Linked DNA regions of Homo sapiens: region 2 is linked to region 1. The links are contacts of gene promoters, found by promoter capture Hi-C in human tissues and cell types (Jung and others, 2019). All regions are on one chromosome and are shown on one strand. The core of a region is centred on a gene start or on the middle of the fragment in contact, and the rest is flanking DNA. Distances in the headings are between cores, read along the strand shown.

Region 1 (5,828 bases), core at 2,449-4,948:
AAGATGATGCTGTACCAGGACTACCTGAATGAAAACTCTGCTAAGAGACTCAGGCAATTAACAACCAGGCTTTCTGAGAAAAGGCTGATTCTCAGAAAAGATGATACTGTACCAGGACTACGTGGTTGACGTGGCTGCCCACTCAACATCCCCTGTGCCCCATGTGAGCATCAGATGGGGCACACATGTATCCTGGGCACCTCATCATGGTATCTGGCCTGGCACGAGTGCTTCCCATATGGGCTGAGTGAAAGGTTGTTGCCCCCCCAGGGACAGGTGGCAGGAGTAGAGCCAGTGGTTGGCAGAACTCGTCCTTGAGGCCCACACAGATGTGGCCAAGGAGCTGCATAGCTGAGTGGGGGAATCTATGTGTGGCTGGCCCCTAGGCCTAGCAGGTGGATTCACAATCTTGTCTGTTTTCCCCACTGCCCCCTTCCCCTGTCCTCTGCCTGACAGCTTGTCCTGTGCATTCTGAACTTTGTCAGATGCTGGGCAGCAAAACAAGCAGCTTCCTCACCTCCCAAAGCCTAATATCCATACTCCTATTGTTGTGGCCACAGCCTATAAGAGAATCTGGCAGAATGAGGCTGTGAGGATAGGCAGGCAGTCAACAGAGAGAGATGTGGTCCAGGCCAGGTGGAGCTGCTGGTAGTCCCTGCTTTCCTGGTCCTGCCCACCCTGTCCTCCCATCCCTATACCTTTAAACCTCACACTGACTGAACCCTCAACTAATGTTCATTTTTTTAAATATGGAAAATACCACTTTGAGAGGCTGAGTCAGGTGGATCACCTGAAGTCAGGAGTTTGAGACTATCCTGGCCAACGTGGTAAACATGCTACTAAAAATTGAAAAATTAGCTGGCTGTGGAGGTGAGCACCTGAATTCCCAGCTACTCAGGAGGCTGAGGCAGGAGAATTTCTTGAACCCAAGAGGTGGAGACTGCAGTGAGCCAAGATCATGTTATTGCACTCCGGCCTAGGCAACATGAGTGAAACTCCATCTCAAAAAATAAATACATAAATAAATATGGAAAATATGTGGCCGGGCGTGGTGGCTCACGCCTGTAATCCCAGCACTTTGTGAGGCTGAGGCAGGTGGATCACTTGAGATCAGGCGTTCAAGACCAGACTGGCCAACACAGTGAAACCCCGTCTTTACTAAAAATACAAAAATTAGCTGGGGGTGGTGGCACAGGCATGTAGTCCCAGCTACTTGGGAGGCTGAAGCAGGAGAATCGCTTGAACCCAGGAGGCAGAGGTTGCAGTGAGCCGAGATCGGGCCACTGCACTCCAGCCTGGGCAACAGAGTGAGACCCTGTCTCAAAAATAAATAAATAGGCCAGGCACAGTGGCTGTTGCCTGTAATCCCAACACTTTGGGAGGCCGAGGCAGGCGGATCACGAGGTCAGAAGATTGAGACCATCCTGGCTAACATGATGAAACCCTGTCTCTACTAAAAATACAAAAAATTATCTGGGCGTGGTGGCATGCGCCCGTAGTCCCAGCTACTCAGGAGGCTGAGGCAAGAGAATTGCTTGAAACTGGGAGGCAGAGCTTGCAGTGAGCTGAGGTGGCGCCACTGTACTCCAGCCTGGGCGACAGAGTGAGACTCTGTCTCAAAAAAATAAATAAATAATAAAAGTGGGTCTTGTTTTTTGTTTTTTGTTTCGGGGTATTTTGGTTAGAGACAGAGTCTTACTCTGTCTTGACCGCCTGGGCTCAATTGATCCTGCTGCCTCAGCCTCCCAAGTAGCTGGGTCTGCAGGCATGTACCAGCACATCTGGCTGACTTTTTAATTTTTTGTAAAGACAGGGTCTCACTATGTTGTCCAGGCTGGCCTTGAACTCCTGGCCTTAAGCGGTCCTCCTGCCTTGGCCTCCTAAAGTGCTGAGATTACAGGCGTGAGCCACCACAAGTTAACACGTTATGCTGGGGAGGAGTTAGGGGAGAGATTTTCTTTGTAGAGACCTGTTACCTCGCTGTGAGTTCTCACCCCACTTCTTTCCCCTCAAGCCTGTGGGCATGAGACCATGGGGAAGATGAGTGGTGCTTTCCACCATAGGAGGCTCAGCCAGCCAGAGCCTGACTCCACCCCGCCATCGTGAGTGGGGCAGAAGGGGCTGCAATGGGATGGGCCACACCTCTGCTGAGGTGGGGCAAGGGATATTGGAGGTTTGCCCATGTAGACCCCACAGGATAAGTGGCAGAGGCAGGGGTGGGGGGTCATCTTGGGCCTTCATTAGAGGAGCACAGAGCCCAGGCAGCAATGATTGGGCAGTGAATGCCACATTCCTTGGGACTGAGGAAGGGTCACAAGGATGGGAACTGTGGGAGAGGAGTCCCAAATAAAGAGCATCTCCGAAGAACTCAGAAAATTGACTGTGAAAGAAGGAGGTTTAACCATCTGTCAGGCCTATAGAGCAAGAGGCTGTGGGCCAAGGGAGAAGTTCTCTGTTCCCCTGCCTTTTCCCCTCCCCAGCACAGAAGCCCAACAGACCCTCTTTTCACAAAGATGGGCCAGGACCCCAGACTTTGGGGGTACACGAGAGAGGAAACATCTTACCTTTTTTTTGTTCTTTGAGATGGAGTCTCACTCTGTCGCCCAGGCTGGAGTACAGTGACGCCATCTTGGCTCACTGCAAGCTCCGCCTCCTGGTTTCAAGCAATTCTCTTGCCTCAGCCTCCTGAGTAGCTGGAACTACGGGCGCGTGCCACCACGCCCGGATAATTTTTTGTATTTTTAGTAGGGACGGGGTGTTAGCCAGGATGGTCTCGATCTTCTGACCTCGTGACCCGCCTGCCTCAGCCTCCCAAAGTGTTGGGATTACAGGCATGAGCCACCGTGCCTGGCCTATTTATTTTTGAGACAGGGTCTCACTCTGTCACCCAGGCTGGAGTGCAGTGGCCCGATCTCGGCTCACTACAACCTCCGCCTCCCAGGTTCAAGCCATCCTCCTGCCTCAGCCTCCTGAGTAGCTGGGACTACAGGCACACACTACCACGCCCAGCTAATTTTTGTATTCTTTGTTTTAGTAGAGACGGGGTTTCACCATGTTGGCCAGGCTGGTCTCGAACTCCTGACCTCAGGTGATCCACCTGCCTCAGCCTTCCAAAGTGCTGGTATTACAGGCATGAGCCACCACACCCAGCCCCATCTTACCTTTGACTGAAGATGGGACTGCTGTCTCCTTGCTTCCACCTCCCACACTTGCTCCTGTGGCTCCAAACTTCAAACAGGATCTTTCTTTGCCTGGCCCACTCCTCCTCATCCTTTACTTAGAAGATTAGATCTTTTCCAGGGAATCTTCATTCCCACCACCCGGCTCTGGGCTCACTCCTCGGGTGCCCCTCTGGGCTCCCACATTACGGTTGCTTTCAGGTCCAGCTTCCGCATGTGGACTATGAAACTGTGAGGACAGCCAAGGGTCAGCATGTGCGAGGAAAGGCAGGGAAGAGGCTAGACGAGGCACTGGGGAGCAGGGAGGCCCAAGACCCTTAAATCCACAGACAGGAAGCCCTGGCTGAAGGGCCAAGTAACCAGGTGTTCTACTTCAATCTTGGCACCCACTGTATGCTTAGACCTTGACTCACACATGTTCAGCTTTAAGCCACTGCACAGATGAGCAAACGGGGCGGAGATTGCAGGCTGATCAGTTTGAAGAGCCAAGATCATCTAGCGTGACCTGTTGCCCAAGGCAGAGACAAGGCTGTGGGCTGGTCAGAAGCTGGTTACAATTCCTCCCGCCCCAGTACTTGCTGGCAGGGATTAAGAGCAGATAAAAGTGTGCTCACACACTGTAGACACGGCTACCATGCCATCCACAGTGTTGCCATCCACAGTGTTGCCATCACTCCTGCCCACAGCAGGAGCTGGCTGGAGCATGAGGTGGATTCTGTGCTGGAGCCTCACCCTCTGCCTGATGGCGCAGACGGCCTTGGGTAAGACCCCCACCCCTTCCCGAGAGTGTCAGGCAAGACGGGCACAAGGGATGGAGGGACAGGCCCCAGTTCAACCTCTCCTGGGGACAGCAGGGCAGGAGCACTTAGACAAGGCCTGGGCAAATGGAGGGTAGGGTTTCAGGACACTAAACCATCTACCAGCTGGGAGTCTGGACAAGTCCTTTAGCCTCCCTGAACCTCAGGGCTTCTCTGTATTTCCTGCCTCCCGGCACAGGTGAAGGGGTCTGAGAACATGGCCACATCTTTTCTTCCTTCCCACCTTTTTCCTTCCTTCCATCCTTCTTTCCTTCTCCTAAGCAGGAGGCCTGTCTCTGCCCCCTCTCTGCTACATGAACCTCTTTACCACCTTCAAATTTCTCCCCAATATCTTTCTTTTTAAAATGAGTACTACACTTTTTACTGTGAAAACAATCTAATACATTAACAAAAGTTTACTGAGGTATAAGATGTATACAGCAAGGTGCACACATCTTCACTGTATAATTATATCTATTATACTAATTATTATATATATATATATGGTAACCATTATCCAGATCAACATCTAGAACATTTCCAGTGGGTTAGGCATGGTAGCTCATGCCTGTAATTCCAGCACTTTGAGAGGCTGAGGTGGGAGGATTACTTGAGCCCAGGAGTTTGAGACCAGCCTGGGCAAATAGTGAGACCTAGCCTGGGTAAATAGACTCTGTCTCTATTTTTAAAAAACATTTTTTAAAAAGTTTTTTTAACTTACAAGGATACACCTGTAATCCCAGCACTTTGGGAGGCCGAAGCGGGCAGATCACCTGAGGTCAGGAGTTTGAGACCAGCCTAACCAATATTATTACCCCGTCTCTACTAAAAATACAAAACTAGCCAGGCATGGTGGCACATGCCTGTAATCCCAGCTACTCAGGAGGCTGAGGCAGGAGAATCGCTTGAAGCCAGGAGGCAGAGGTTGTAGTGAGCCGAGATCGTGCCATTGCACTCCAGCCTGGGCAACAAGAGCGAAACTCTATCTCAAAAAAAAAAACAAAAAACCATCTCCAGCGTCCCATGTACTCCTTCTCAGTCAATACTCAAAGTTACCACTAGTCTGACCTCTATCATAAATAAATTTTGCCCATATATACATATATCCATTATTTTAAATTTGAAGGAAACTTTGCTTACTCCGCTTTTAACATTTTGGCGCATTTTCTTTTCATCTTTTCTTTTTTTTTTTTTTTTTTTTTGAGACGGAGTCTCGCCCTGTCACCCAGACTGGTGTGCAATGGTGCCATCTCCGCTCACCGCAACCTCCACCTCCCGGGTTCAAGCAATTCTCCCCACCTCAGCCTCCCAAGTAGCTGGGACTACAGGCGTACACCACAAGCCCAGCTAATTTTTGTATTTTTTTAGTGGAGATGGGGTTTCGCCATGCTGGCCAGGCAGGTCTCGAAATTCTGACCTGAGATGATCCACCTGCCTCGGCCTCCCAAAGTGCTGGGACCGCAGGCATGAGCCACCATGCCCAACCTCTTTTCACCTTTTCATTGTGTATTTATCTATAGCTGTACTATTAGAATGTACACAATTTTAAGCCAAATGGGGTGGCTCATGTCTATAATCCCAGCATTTTGGGAGTCTGATGTGGGAGGATTGCTTAAGCTCAGGAGTTCAAGACCAGCCTGGGCAACATAACTAGAGCCCATCTGAACAAAAAATTTAAAAATTAGCCAAGCATGGTGTGGTGCATGCCTGCAGTCCCAACTGCTCGAGAGGCTGAAGTGAGAGGCTCACTTGAGTTTGGGAGGTGGAGGCTGTAGTGAGCTATGATCATGCCACTGCCTTCCAGCCTGGGCAACAGAGGGAGACCTTGTCTCAAAAAAAGAAAAAAATAAGG
Region 2 (5,796 bases), core at 3,170-5,669, 310 kb after region 1:
CCATACATGCTGACTTCACCTTTACAAACCACATATGAGCCAGATGCCTAATGGTAACTGGGTACTAGAGGGCTTGTGGTGAAAGGTGTTATAATAATGCTCTTGATTATAGAAGTGTCAGATCAATGAGAAACTGCCTAAATCGTTTCGGCCTCAATGTTAAAATTAGATTAAGGAATCAGAAAAGGAAAAAGAAAAAAACCCTTGATCATTCCTTTGCCCTTACTGAATATTTTCTTTTTTTTTTTTTTTTTTTTTTTTTTTTGAGACGGAGTCTCGCTCTGTCACCCAGGCTGGAGTGCAGTGGCACGATCTCGGCTCACTACAAGCTCCGCCTCCCGGGTTTACGCCATTCTCCTGCCTCAGCCTCCTGAGTAGCTGGGACTACAGGCGCCCACCACCACGCCTGGCTAATTTTTTTGTGTTTTCAGTAGAGACGGGGTTTCACTGTGTTAGCCAGGATGGTCTCGATCTCCTGACCTCATGATCCACCCGCCTCGGCCTCCCAAAGTGCTGGGATTACAGGCGTGAGCCACCGCGCCCGGCCTAAGAATGCTTAAAAGTAGTTTAGAAATGAAAGGAATGTACACAATTGGTGACATCGTGGCCAGATAGGTGAAGCTGGTATCACTGGTTGAAAAGGCCTCACTCCCATATGAGTCAAAGCTTGGGCTCATATGATATGTGTCCCTAAGTGTGGCCAGGGTTGTTAGTGATGAAGGCACAGCTGGTATCATTGGAGGAAAACTGTAAAAACCAGTGGCCTGAATACTGCTTTTGGACTACTCTGGATTGGTTAATTTCATGCAGTTTCTCCCTCCCTGGGAGCAGTGGCCTAAGCTGCCTGTCTAGCCTTCTGGGCAGTGCTGGCCCAGCCCTGGTGCAGCAAGACACACGTCCATCTGAGGCATCCACAGGGTCGGTGGATTCCCAGGGATTGCAAGTGGCCCTCACCTCCACCCAGCTGTACAGGCGCTCCTGGGTGTGCCGGTCATCCTTGAAGCCGGTGATGGCCAGCAAATCTACCACAAACTGCTTGGGGCTGATGTGCAGGGTCTGCCAGGAGAGCCCACAGTCAGGCAGTGCTAGGGCAGCTCCTAGCCCCTCAGAGTGAGATGCAGAGCGGGGACTTCTCTGGGCCCACAGAGCCACAGGGGTAGGGGGCGGGCACTGTCACTGCAAATCTGCCTCTTGGCCGAGGCTCAGTCCAGGTGCAACTGCTCTGCTTGCCTCCCTGTCCCACCACTCTTCTGGCCCTGGCCTTCTCCTTAACCCCATCTTGGCTTACTTCCTCTTGCCTTGCACCACTTATTGTGGGGCAGGGGAAGAGGTGGAGAAGGTACAGGGTGCCCCAGGGCCTGAGGCCTGTCACACATACCCACAGCCGATTGGCCAGGGAGACCACCTTGGCTGTGATGGCTTTGGGGTCCTTTTGCCTGATGGAATCCATGATGATGTCAGCCAGGAAGCAGTGACATTTCTGTGCATAAAACATCTCTTCCCAGGACAGAGAGAAACTCAGGAAAGTCACTTCTGTGGAGGAGGGAAAGTGGATGTGGCCACATCTGTCAATAGCTAGGGCCTTAGAGACAGTGTGAGGAGGGGGAGAGGGGTAGGGCCCCCAGGGGCCACTGTCTCTGCCTGAAGTACCCTGGGAGGGGGCTCAGGCATCCTCACGAGGAGGCGCAGGGCTCGGCCTGGCTCCAGAGCCTCACCTTGGGGCTGGGGACTGGCTGTGGGTGTTGTGTGCCTGAGGTTGTCCATCTCCGTGGTATAGATGATGCTGTCCTCAAAGAACATGCAGAAGCCATCGCTGCCCACCACGGGGGGGTGAGTCACTTTGAGGATAACCCCTAGGCTGTCCACCTCACTGGCCTCGGGCAGAGGCTGCTCAGGGGCAGGGCTTTCTGTGAAAACAACATAGGGAGGGGGCTCTCCTTTTAAAAAAAAATTTTTTTTCAAGATAGAGTTTTGCTTTTGTTGCCCAGGCTGGAGTGCAATGGCACAATCTTGGCTCACTGCAACCTCTGCCTCCCAGGTTCCAGCGATTCTCCTGCCTCAGCCTCCTGAGTAGCTGGGATTACAGGCACCTGCCACCACGCCCGGCTAATTTTTGTATTTTTGGTAGAGATGGGGTTTCACCAGGCTGGTCTCGAACTCCTGACCTTAGGTGATCCACCCGCCTCAGCCTCCCAAAGTGCTGGGATTACAGGCGTGAGCCACACGCACAGGCTTTTAAAATTCTTTTCTTCAATTACCATCAAATCTTCATAAGCAGGGACTCTCCTTAAGCCACCTCAGAGCCCAAGCAGGAAGGGGACCTCTGGTGACAGGCCAGTACAATCAAGTCACCCCAGCCTTGCAACAGCTGCCACCTCTAGTTTCTCAGAAGTGACACCCTGGGCTGGCAGGGGCCTGTCCTGGCCACTCCTCTCTTCATTGCCCTGGCATCACTGCAAGCCAAATCCTGAACATTTTGGAACTCGAAGAAACTCCAGATTCCTCTGTTGAACTAAGACGTATCAAATGGGGCTGAGGGCTGGAAATCTTTATAAAATTTTAAGTTGAGAACTTTTGGGGCCAGCCTTTGATGCATGTCCAAAGAGTGGACATTTGTCATCCCAACCTTGACAGACCAACTTAGGGCTCACAGGCAAGAGTCCAAGAAGGCCCCTCCAAGCAGGGCTGGAGCCACTAATAGGGAAGGTGACAATACTGCAGGCAGGGCTTTGAGGGAGCAGAGGCAGCATCCTGGCACAGCGATTTTCAGCACAGTTCCCTGGCCACCTTCCCTTAGCTGGCTACACAAGCTCTCTCTCCAGTTCAGTCCCTGTAGCCCCTGCTGTCTCCTGGGCTTCTCCACCTGGATGTCCCTCGGCATTTCACACTCAGTATGTGCCCTTCCCCAAGCTCTGCTCTTTCTCTTACCCACACCTCAGTAAGGGCCTATCCACCCCCTTGCAGTCCCACAGGCTAGAAACCTGGCTTCTCCTTGGCCCATCCCTCCTTCCCTCCACTACCTGCCTAGCCTGCTTCCCCTAGCCTAGAAAGAACTCCAAGTGGCTTCGAATACCTAGCTCCTGCTGCATTTCCTCTGCTCCTGGAGCAAACTTTCTGATGGGCACACCTGACCCCGTGCTCTTGTCTAAAATCCTTCAGACGCTGCTCACTCCCATCCTGGTCAGAATGGAGTACCACGTCCTGAAGCTGGCCCACGAGGCCTGTCCTTATGACTTCTGTCTTCAGCCTCATCTTTTATCACGTCTGCATGTGAAGCCTGGCCTCCAGCTAGACCCATGCCCTGCGCTTCCAAACATCCTGGACTTCTCCTTCCTTCCCCTGCTGACTCCCCAGCCCTCAGCCTCTTTTGTGCTCCTGCTTCATAGGCACCTCCTTCCCACAGCACTCATCCCTTCGCCGTGTGTGTTCTCCTGGCCCCTCCAGCCATGCCAATGTGCCAGTCATTTCTGTGTCTGCTGCCTGGCACAGAGATGGCATTGGTGAGCGGGGGGGTCTAGTCCTCCTTTGTCACTAACTTGCTCTGCCATCTTGGCCAAAGAGTTTGCCTTCTCTGTTGTGAATAAGACTTAGATCAAAGGGGGACAGGACTCACCTCTCTCCTTGGTCCTCTGCTTGCTCCAGTCCTTCAGGGTGCCAGCTCTTTTTGGGGGTAAGTATGGCTTGAAGGTTGGCTCTGGCCCCTTGTCTTTCGCTCCAGCTCCAGCCCCTGCCTGTGGTCCTGGATCCTTCTCTGAGGCTGTGGAATGGGCTTTCCAGGCAGCTGAGGTGCTGGGCTGGGAAGCAGCCTCGCTTCCCAAGGGGAGCTGCAGGGTGGCCTCCTCCAAGGGGCTGCTCCGTGTGGCTGTCAGTGGCTGGAATTCCCACTGTTTGCAATTGACCATGTCCCATTCTCTCACCAGGGAGATGAGTTTTTGCATGGGAGTGGCGGGAGGGTCTTTGGTTTCAGATTTCTGTGTGAGGTTGATTGTGGTGCATTTCTTCTTTGGGGGGCTCTCAGGGTGGCTCCCCCAGTGTCCAGGATTGGTACACAAGCCACGGCAGTGTGAGTATGTGCTAGGGTTGCCAGCCCTCTTGGCATTTCGGCATAGGGACACCTGGATGGGCCGAGTGTACTGCTCAGCCTCATCCATCTGGTTGGACCTGACCAGGTTTCCCTTAGCCTTGTTCCATGGAGTCCTGTCACTGCAGTCTTCGAAGTCCACAGGCATGTAGGCTGTGGTCTGGGGAGGGAAGGGCACAGTAACTCTGGATAGGTTGGGCATGGACATCAACGCCTTGCCCAAGATCTAATAAGCTGGGCCTCCAAGACTTCACTTGCTCTCCCTGAACAATCCCATCCCTGACAGGGGTCACCCATTTGAGCTTTGCTCAGGCTGAGTGGGGATGGTGCCAGCCCAGTGGCCTGTCATTCCAACAGGAGATACAATCAGCATCGCAGGCCACAAGTGGCCAGTAAGTTCCTGTGCCTCCTTCACGGTTCAGAAGCCAGGTCCTGTCCTAGGAACCCATGTAGGCTCTGCTCTTTCATTTTGCTGCACCCACCAGTAGCTGAACCTACCCCCATCCACCCTGAGCCCGGTGGTAGTGGTTTTTGAGGATAACACCAACCAGAGGAGGCTGGTGCTTACTTCTTTAGTGTCTCTACTGAACTCCACCAGTGACCCTGGCCCTTCTGTCACCACATGCAGCCTCCTGATGGAAAAAGCTTCTTCATTTTCAGATTCTTTCTCCTGAGTCCATGACCTGCAGAAACCAAGAGGGGTTGGTTAGTGAGTAGAGACTTCCATCAGGCCATTGGCCAGTTGGTCAGATCTGCTCTTTGGCTGGGAGTTAATGCTAGACAGCAGGGAAGAAGGGGCTCTTAAAGGGTTTTGCCTAGGTCACTGGCCAATCCTGGGCCTGCTTCACTCCCTCAACCCCAAGGAGATCAGGATCCTCTAGGAGTAGGACTTAGGACAGGATTTCAAGAGGAATTTAAAGGACCAAATTCTAAACATAGAGTCGTGATAAAGTTTTCTTACTTGTATGCTTCACATTGTGCAAGGGCTTCTGAGAGGGATGGAATGTGGTATTCCTCCACCTCCTGGCAGAAGAGGGGCCATTCCCTGCAAACAACAAGGAGATATCCAGCTGGGCAGCTAGGATGAGGGTGTGGGAGGGAGCATGAGCTCCTGGAACTGCCGCTGCCAACAGTTCCCACGATGGAAATAAAATAACCTCCTCCCTGAAGGCTGCAACTCAGGTCTCCTTTGTTGCTAAGGGAGGGGTCAGCCTTCGTGATTTCATCTTACTGCGTCCTTGCTTCACTTACTTAAATTCAGATGGTAAAAACAGTTTGCCAAGTCTCAGGAAGTTGAGAATGTGTCGGAACATCTGGCCATCCCCGTGGATGAGCAGGGTTTGTCCATATGTGATCCAGTACACTCTCTGAGGGTTGGACAGCAGTTCTGGATACTGGAGGGGGTTGGACACCGGACTCAGTCTCAGAGGCTAGGTCTTTGCGAAGGGGCAGGTCAATCTTCTCTCACTCCCCTTTTCCAACTACACTAGAGCAGAGGCTTTGAGATTCCATTTCCCTGTCTTGTCAGTCACAAGGAACCATGGTGGGGAGCAGAGCTTCCAGGGAGAAGCACATCATCCCTGCTTCAACTTTTGATGGCCCCTAGACCACCCTCTCAAGGCATTTGGAAGCCCACCGTACCTCCTTCTCAGTCCAGGTCCCTCAGAGCTGGCCCCCTCCCTATGCAAACTCTGGAGGGCCTTCCCAGCAGGCCA

What was found. The method cuts DNA at HindIII sites, captures the fragments that hold promoters and counts their contacts. A contact is called where the count stands out against the background at its distance.
Region 2: a fragment that was not itself captured here is called in contact with the fragment with the promoter of CES4A in region 1 in 1 of the 25 tissues and cell types used here (spleen).

The regions. Positions count from the first base shown.
Region 1 is chr16:66,984,891-66,990,718 of GRCh38, forward strand. CES4A (carboxylesterase 4A) reads left to right here and starts at 3,699. Exons shown (of 14, transcript NM_001364782.1): 1 at 3,699-3,940. The coding sequence starts at 3,883. The HindIII fragment of the contact is 42,626 bases long and covers 1-5,828 here.
Region 2 is chr16:67,289,931-67,295,726 of GRCh38, forward strand. It overlaps KCTD19 (potassium channel tetramerization domain containing 19), which reads right to left. Exons shown (of 16, transcript NM_001100915.3): 9 at 5,333-5,475; 10 at 5,043-5,126; 11 at 4,650-4,764; 12 at 3,614-4,241; 13 at 1,716-1,907; 14 at 1,379-1,533; 15 at 955-1,056. Among named protein-coding and RNA genes, the nearest start is that of PLEKHG4, 13 kb to the left of the region's middle. The HindIII fragment of the contact is 3,446 bases long and covers 2,697-5,796 here.